Regions from separate parts of the Homo sapiens genome. Here region 1 is linked to region 2. Evidence: promoter capture Hi-C in 16 types of primary human blood cells and fetal thymus (Javierre and others, 2016). All regions are on one chromosome and are shown on one strand. The core of a region is centred on a gene start or on the middle of the fragment in contact, and the rest is flanking DNA. Distances in the headings are between cores, read along the strand shown. Region 1 overlaps RNGTT (RNA guanylyltransferase and 5'-phosphatase). Region 2 holds the start of GJB7 (gap junction protein beta 7).

Region 1 (3,809 bases), core at 131-2,630, 1.6 Mb after region 2:
CAGAAATATTTTAATAACATTTCTATGGGGTTGAAAAAGCTGAATATTTTTAATTTAACAGAGCCAATAAATACTGAGCATCAGTACAGATCTAACAACTACTGAGTCTGGTTATAAAAGTTAACCCCAATCACCTAGTAAATGTCTGTCATCCATTTATTGTTCTTCTTCCTTAATCTTTCCTACCATGCATCAACTTCTTTTTTAACTTCCTCTATTTTCTTCCACAACAAATAAGTAAAAAGAAAGGTAGAAGTCCAATAAAAAAAAGTATGATACACTTCATACACAAATCATCCTTGGTAACTTTAGGCTAACATAATTTGCTATTTAATGTTACTACAATAGTTCTGACAAAATACCATTTTTATATTATTCAAAATTATATAACTCCAAGAAAGACCACTAATTTTTTTATTTATTTCTAGATGCAGTTTCTTTAATGTAAGCCAATTCTGGTTATTTCTACCTAGAGCTGAAAGCAACCTGAAAATACCCATCTTCATTTTCATGTTAGAGATCTAGAAACTGTTTCAAGATTCTAAATGTGCAAAAGGTCTAAGAGGGGAGAAAATAAAATCTTTTAAACAAGCTTTGCACGTGCTGATACTGCTCATTATTTCATTATATCAGCCCTTCCAAATCTTGAATTTGCATTTTTAACCAGTGTTAGAAAATCCTGTATTTCCCTCCCTGGGAAATATGGGAAGCATGAGCCATGACATATTCCTGAAGCTAAATCTCAGGGCATCACCTCTCACAAACAAGAGATCAAGATGCTTTTCATATTTATTTTATTTTAAAAATCCACAATGGATAAAAGAGAACAATCATCCAGGATGTAGGTGCCAGACACAGGGCAGAAGGTAGCTAGAAAAGTATGCCTTAGGGAAGTTAAGGGCCTAGCCTCATCCCTACCTTGTTTTAATAGCTGTACCTAACATAAACAGCTTAGTTTTCCATTGTTGTAGCTTCCTCTGCCCCATTTACAAACATGGCACAGCCGGCATGCCTTGCAAGGCCTGAGTTGAAGGACCGCATGTACACACAGACCAGTACAGCAGTACTAGGCTAACTAGAAGGATATCATCCCCATATGTGATCTCATTCCAAGTCTACAGCTGACTACCTTCATTGTTATGTATGAGATGGTTTCACTCCTTGAAAATATGGCCACTTCAGCATAAAATAGTTAAATCTTTATAATGGAAAGATCACTAATTCTAAACAGTGGCCAGATGTGGTGACTCATGCCAGTAATCCCGGCACTTTGGGAGGCTGAGTCAGGAGGACTGCTTGAGCCCCAGAGTTCAAGACCAGCTTGGGCAACACAGTGAGACCCATCTCTATTTATAAAAATAAAAAATAAATAATTAATTTTAAAAATAAATTTTAAATAGCAATGTCTTCGGTCTGGAATTATTGTGAACATACTATAATTGAGTATTAAAGTCACTGACATTTATTTTCACTTTTCAACAAATTATTTCTGTTTGTGAAAATAAAGAAAAATCGAAAGTTAAAAAAGTATGTTTATAGAAATATATTTCATAAACAGAGTCAGCTAGCCTTAAAATTAAAATCTGCATGGCTATCACAACAGAAATGAGTGATCCTTTAGACAGAAATTTAGTAAATATTACAGAAGATGGAGGCAATTTATGTGAGAGAGAGCTCTGTGTGTGTGTGTGTGTGTGTGTGTGTGTGTGTGTGTGTGTAAAGAGAAAATGTATACAAGAATATACGTACAACAGGCATATTTTCATAATGAGGAAAATACATTCATCGTTGTATTCAAAGAAATGATCTCAGACATCAGTTCAAGGAGTAAGCAACATACCTGTAAGTCATACTCTTCCAACTTAGTAACACATGTACTCAAAAGATGAATAAAGAAGGTGTCTTAGGAATGTAAGGGGCCAAGCACAGCATCGGACATGTGCCACAGTTATAAACCCAAAGAGAACTATCAGAATTAATTACAAGGAGTCCATTACTTGAATACATAGTTATATCAATATAAGAATCAGAAAAGACTGTACTTAACAAAAATAAAGTCTCAAACCAAAAATACCTTCATTATGTCAAGAGATGTGATCTATAAAATAGTCACTCTTAGATTGCCTCTGTTAACTATCTTCAACCTCAGATGGAAATAAAAGAAAAATGAAAGCTTTTCCAACCATAAATGTAATAAGTAATTATATCTGTGCTTCTCATCCCTGTCAACCATAGGTCAACTACAGTTGACACCATCCACAATTCAACTCTTCAGTCCCCTTTCTTCTCTGATGGTTTTGTACTCACTGCTTTAAAGCCCCTTTTCCTTGGTTCATCTTATCAATAATCACCTTCCCAAAGAGTTCCAATGTAAACCCTGGAATTCCTTTTTCATAAATAACCTTCCCCATCACCTCAACCATTTTCTTGAACACCCCGTACCGTGTCTCAACTAAAAGCTAGCTCTCCCTAGACAGATCATGTCATCTTAAAGCTACTTATTCTCCCACAGCCCAAGATCCATGGCAGTAATTTAAACTACTGTTCTATACCTCCTCACTGCTTTCCTAATCTCTTTCAAAAGGCCCTCTTGTGTTTACACTAATTCCTTTCAGCTATACCACTCAGCTGTAGTAAAGCAGAAATCCACTGTGGGTACTGGCATAACAACTCTCTTTAAGGGCTGCCCTCCCAACCCACAAAGATGGGGCCTAATAGCTATTTTACATGACATTACAAGATAACATCCTACTCCAGCCAAAGTTGATGGGAGCACGAATAACCCCTAACTCAATCTGAAGCCATCAGATTCTCTCTCCTGGTAATTTGGAATTGGGATTCCGAGACAAGCAGTTAGTCTCTGCATGTGGCTAAAATTATAACAGGTTACCTTAGAAGCTTCGAGACAGTTAATGATCTCCCAGGAAAATCAGGAATCAGGAAGAGCCAATCTTGAGAGACAGAGACAATGAGAAGACTGATACAAATAAAGGGACAAAAGCAGAGATGCGATATTAAGAAGAAAGAGCAGAAACTAGGTTCTAAGTAACTTTCCAGGTCCAGGTTCCAATATTGTCCTAAAATCTGGCACATTCCAGTGCCTGAGTTCCACTAATTTACTCATGAATAAGTACCCTTAATATTTAAGCCAGTTTAAGTTATTTTCTGCTGTTTACAGTCAGAGAGTCTAAACTAGTAAAACCCTCTATCCTTTGTGTATTGAAAGATATTGCCCTACATTCATCAAAAAAAGTTGGTCTTTCTGACTATTCTAACCTCTATCATTATATTGGTAACATCAACATCCATTGAAATAACTCGACCTGTTGTACAACCTTTACAATAGGTCATCTCATTTACAATGACCCTCATCTTTGTCCAACTGGAACATCCTGCTCCATGGCACTACCACAATCATTTCAAACCACTCTACCTTTTGATTCAATACAACTCACATTGATTGAGTGCCGACAGCATTCTAAAACTAACATGTCACTATAAACTCTTTTACTGTCACTCTGCTCACTTTTCAATTTCACCAAGACTAACAGTCCCTTCATTTCTCCTTTACATATTCTAACAGCACCCTCATCCTGACCTTACTTCCTATTCAGCCTAGAACCTATGGCTGATTACTTCAATTATTTTTCCTCTGACAGCCTCAGTGCCCCTTACCCTCTTGTTCTTCATCACACCCAAACTGAATTTCTCCAGCCTTGAGTCAACCTACCGTTAGTCTTTTCCACTCTCATACATAGGCAGCTGAAACTTACTGAGGAAAAAATCACAATCTCAATTACATCTCCAGT
Region 2 (4,098 bases), core at 1,283-3,782:
GATTTGGGGTGGAGAGTTCTGTAGATGTCTATTAGGTCTGCTTGGTGCAGAGCTGAGTTCAATTCCTGGGTATCCTTGTTGACTTTCTGTCTCGTTGATCTGTCTAATGTTGACAGTGGGGTGTTAAAGTCTCCCATTATTAATTTGTGGGAGTTTAAGTCTCTTTGTAGGTCACTCAGGACTTGCTTTATGAATCTGGGTGCTCCTGTATTGGGTGCATATATATTTAGGATAGTTAGCTCTTCTTGTTGAATTGATCCCTTTACCATTATGTAATGGCCTTCTTTGTGTCTTTTGATCTTTGTTGGTTAAAAGTCTGTTTTATCAGAGACTAGGATTGCAACCCCTGCTTTTTTTTGTTTTCCATTTGCTTGGTAGATGTTCCTCCATCCTTTTATTTTGAGCCTATGTGTGTCTCTGCACGTGAGATGGGTTTCCTGAATACAGCACACTGATGGGTCTTGACTCTTTATCCAATTTGCCAGTCTGTGTCTTTTAATTGGAGCATTTAGTCCATTTACATTTAAAGGTAATATTGTTATGTGTGAATTTGATCCTGTCATTATGTTAGCTCGTTATTTTGCTCGTTAGTTGATACAGTTTCTTCCTAGTCTCAATGGTCTTTACATTTTGGCAATGGATGGTACAGGTTGTTCCTTTCCATGTTTAGTGCTTCCTTCAGGAGCTCTTTTAGGGCAGGCCTGCTGGTCACAAAATCTCTCAGCATTTGCTTGTCTGTAAAGTATTTTATTTCTCCTTCACTTATGAAGCTTAGTTTGGCTGGATATGAAATTCTGGGTTGAAAATTCTTTTCTTTAAGAATGTTGAATATTGGCCCCCACTCTCTTCTGGCTTGTAGAGTTTCTGCCAAGAGATCCGCTGTTAGTCTGATGGGCTTCCCTTTGTGGGTAACCCGACCTTTCTCTCTGGCTGCCCTTAACATTTTTTCCTTCATTTCAACTTTGGTGAATCTGACAATTATGTGTCTTGGAGTTGCTCTTCTCGAGGAGTATCTTTGTGGCGTTCTCTGTATTTCCTGAATCTGAATGTTGGCCTGCCTTGCTAGATTGGGGAAGTTCTCCTGGATAATATCCTGCAGAGTGTTTTCCAACTTGGTTCCATTCTCCCCGTCACTTTCAGGTACACCAATCAGACGTAGATTTGGTCTTTTCACATAGTCCCATATTTCTTGGAGGCTTTGCTTGTTTCTTTTTATTCTTTTTTCTCTAAACTTCCCTTCTCGCTTCATTTCATTCACTTCATCTTCCATCACTGATACCCTTTCTTCCAGTTGATCGCATCAGCTCCTGAGGCTTCTGCATTCTTCACGTAGTTCTTGAGCCTTGGTTTTCAGCTCCATCAGCTCCTTTAAGCACTTCTCAGTATTGGTTATTCTAGTTATACATTCTTCTAAACTTTTTTCAAAGTTTTCAACTTCTTTGCCTTTGGTTTGAATTTCCTCCCGTAGCTCGGAATAATTTGATCGTGTGAAGCCTTCTCTCAGCTCGTCAAAGTCATTCTCCGTCCAACTTTGTTCCGTTGCTCGTGAGGAACTGCGTTCCTTTGGAGGAGGAGAGGCACTCTGCTTTTTAGAGTTTCCAGTTTTTCTGCTCTGTTTTTTCCCCATCTTTGTGGTTTTATCTACTTTTTGTCTTTGTTGATGGTGATGTACAGATGGGTTTTTGGTGTGGATGTCCTTTCTGTTTGTTAGTTTTCCTTCTAACAGACAGGACCGTAAGCTTCAGGTCTGTTGGAGTACCCGGCCGTGTGAGGTATCAGTCTGCCCCTGCTGGAGGCTGCCTCCCAGTTAGGCTGCTCGGGGGTCAGGGGTCAGGGACCCACTTGAGGAGGCAGTCTGCCTGTTCTCAGATCTCCAGCTGCGTGCTGGGAGAACCACTGCTCTCTTCAAAGCTGTCAGACAGGGACATTTAAGTCTGCAGAGGATACTGCTGTCTTTTTGTTTGTCTGTGCCCTGCCCCCAGAGGTGGAGCCTACAGAGGCAGGCAGGCCTCCTTGAGCTGTGGTGGGCTCCACCCAGTTCGAGCTTCCCAGCTGCTTTGTTTACCTAAGCAAGCCTGGGCAATGGCGGGCGCCCCTCCCCCAGCCTCACTGCCGCCTTGCAGTTTGATCTCAGACTGCTGTGCTAGCAATCAGCCAGACTCCGTGGGCGTAGGACCCTCCGAACCACGTGCGGGATATAATCTCGTGGTGCGCCATTTTTTAAGCCCGTCGGAAAAGCGCAGGATTCGGGTGGGAGTGACCCGATTTTCCATGTGCCGTCTGTCACCCTTTTCTTTGACTAGGAGAGGGAACTCCCTGACCCCTTGCACTTCCCGAGTGAGGCAATGCCTCGCCCTGCTTCGGCTCTCACATGGTGCGCGCACCCACTTACCTGCGCCCAGTGTCTGGCACTCCCTAGTGAGATGAACCCGGTACCTCGACTGGAAATGCAGAAATCACCCATCTTCTGCGTTGCTCACTCTGGGAGCTGTAGACCGGAGCTGTTCCTATTCAGCCATCTTGGCTCCTCCCCTCTTGTTTTGTTTTTAGACAGAGTTTCGCTCTGTCGCCCAGGCTGGAGTGCAGTGGCACGATCTCGGCTCACTGCAACCTTCACCTCCTGGGTTCAGGCGATTATTCTGCCTCAGCCTCCCGAGGAGCTGGGATTACAGGCCCGCACCACCACACCCAGCTAATTTTTGTATTTTTAGTAGAGACGGGGTTTCACCATATTGGCTACGCTAGTTTCAAACTCCTGACCTCAAGTGATCCTGACCTCAAGCAATCTACCCGCTTCGGCCTCCCAGAGTGCTGGGATTGCAGGCGTGAGCCACCCTGCCCGGCAGGAAAGATACTTTTTTAGAAAGTATGTTTTACCTTAAAAACAACATATATATAATCAATTTTTAAAACTTAAGTGATTATAATTTTTTTTCTTAAATATTGTAATATACATGCAAAGGCCTTTTATCAATTCAAGAGTAAGATGGGGTGAGGTGGTGAAATATTGGTGGGCTGGTAATTGGGAGACCTAGGTGATCGCACCCTCCTGGTAAGGACATCTCCTTGGGTCTGGGTTTCTCAGAAAGGGGTTTAGAAGGGGGAGTTAGACTAAATGGTGAGTATGAAAGTAGCTACCATTCATTGAACATCTGCATCTTTTAAAATGTGTCATCTTAATTAATGCACACATTTAGTACCTATCTATGCAATAGATAGTATTGCTCCTTTTATAAAGGTAGAAACTGAGAATCAGAGTTGTCACTTAAAGACACACAGCTTATAAGTAGCAAAGTGAGAATCTGAGGTTATGCTATGTTTCCCCTCAAGCCATGAAGTCCTCTGATTCTATCCCAAACTTGTTTAAACTAATTTAAATTATTTTTAAGGTTTTCTGCCCCAAAGTTCAAGTTAGTTTCTTAAGTATTAAGATAATGTGGCATGTGAAACTATAAAAAAGTGTATTATACTTTCATTAAAATATTTTGCCCATTTTATAATTCTCTGTCTTTTAAAGGAAATGCTTTCATTATTAATAAGGTTCCTGCTCGTTAACATTTTATGATTCTGGTCATTTTGTTTTGTCTTCTATTGAGGTGCTTATTTCTAAAATGTATGTTTGAAGATTAAGTGTTTCCCTCAAAGTAATTCTTATATTCTTTATATCTTAGTCTAATTTGCATGTACAATATATTAATAGGTAGTCAAGTATTCTGGAATAACTCCCTGAGCAAGAATTTTGCTAAAGAAGGGAAAATCATTCAAAAATGACTAGTCCTGACTCTCGGTGTAGGACCATCTGTACAGCCTCTCACATTGTGTGTTATTAATTTCAGGGGCTTACTATTCTTACACTTTGAGATGTAAATGACTCTCATGGAGTTGGGTAAACGGGCAGTCCTTTATCTTTGCTTCTTCCTTTTTCCATTGCACGCTTCCGTCACAGGAGGATGGACAGAAGAAAAAGGTAAAGAACATTTTACCAGAGAGAAACAAATGAAGCAAATACCCCTTAGTTTAGACCTTTTTTACAGGCACCTGTGAAATGTTCTACTCTCCTCTATTTTTTTTTTTAAGAAAAGATAAATAACAGTTTCT

The links. Contacts are between HindIII fragments. The CHiCAGO score rates a contact against its expected background, and 5 or more counts as called.
Region 1: a fragment that was not itself captured here is called in contact with the fragment with the promoter of GJB7 in region 2 in 1 of 17 cell types (total B cells); the score reaches 6.2 in total B cells.

Annotation. Positions count from the first base shown.
Region 1 is chr6:88,893,553-88,897,361 of GRCh38, forward strand. All of the region lies in intron 6 of RNGTT (RNA guanylyltransferase and 5'-phosphatase), which reads right to left. Among named protein-coding and RNA genes, the nearest start is that of RNGTT, 68 kb to the right of the region's middle. The HindIII fragment of the contact is 1,581 bases long and covers 591-2,171 here.
Region 2 is chr6:87,326,746-87,330,843 of GRCh38, forward strand. It overlaps GJB7 (gap junction protein beta 7), which reads right to left and starts at 2,533. Exons shown (of 3, transcript NM_198568.3): 1 at 2,393-2,533. It overlaps SMIM8 (small integral membrane protein 8), which reads left to right. Exons shown (of 4, transcript NM_001042493.3): 2 at 3,947-3,967. RefSeq lists enhancers at 1,591-2,277, 2,278-2,962. The HindIII fragment of the contact is 5,500 bases long and covers 1,738-4,098 here.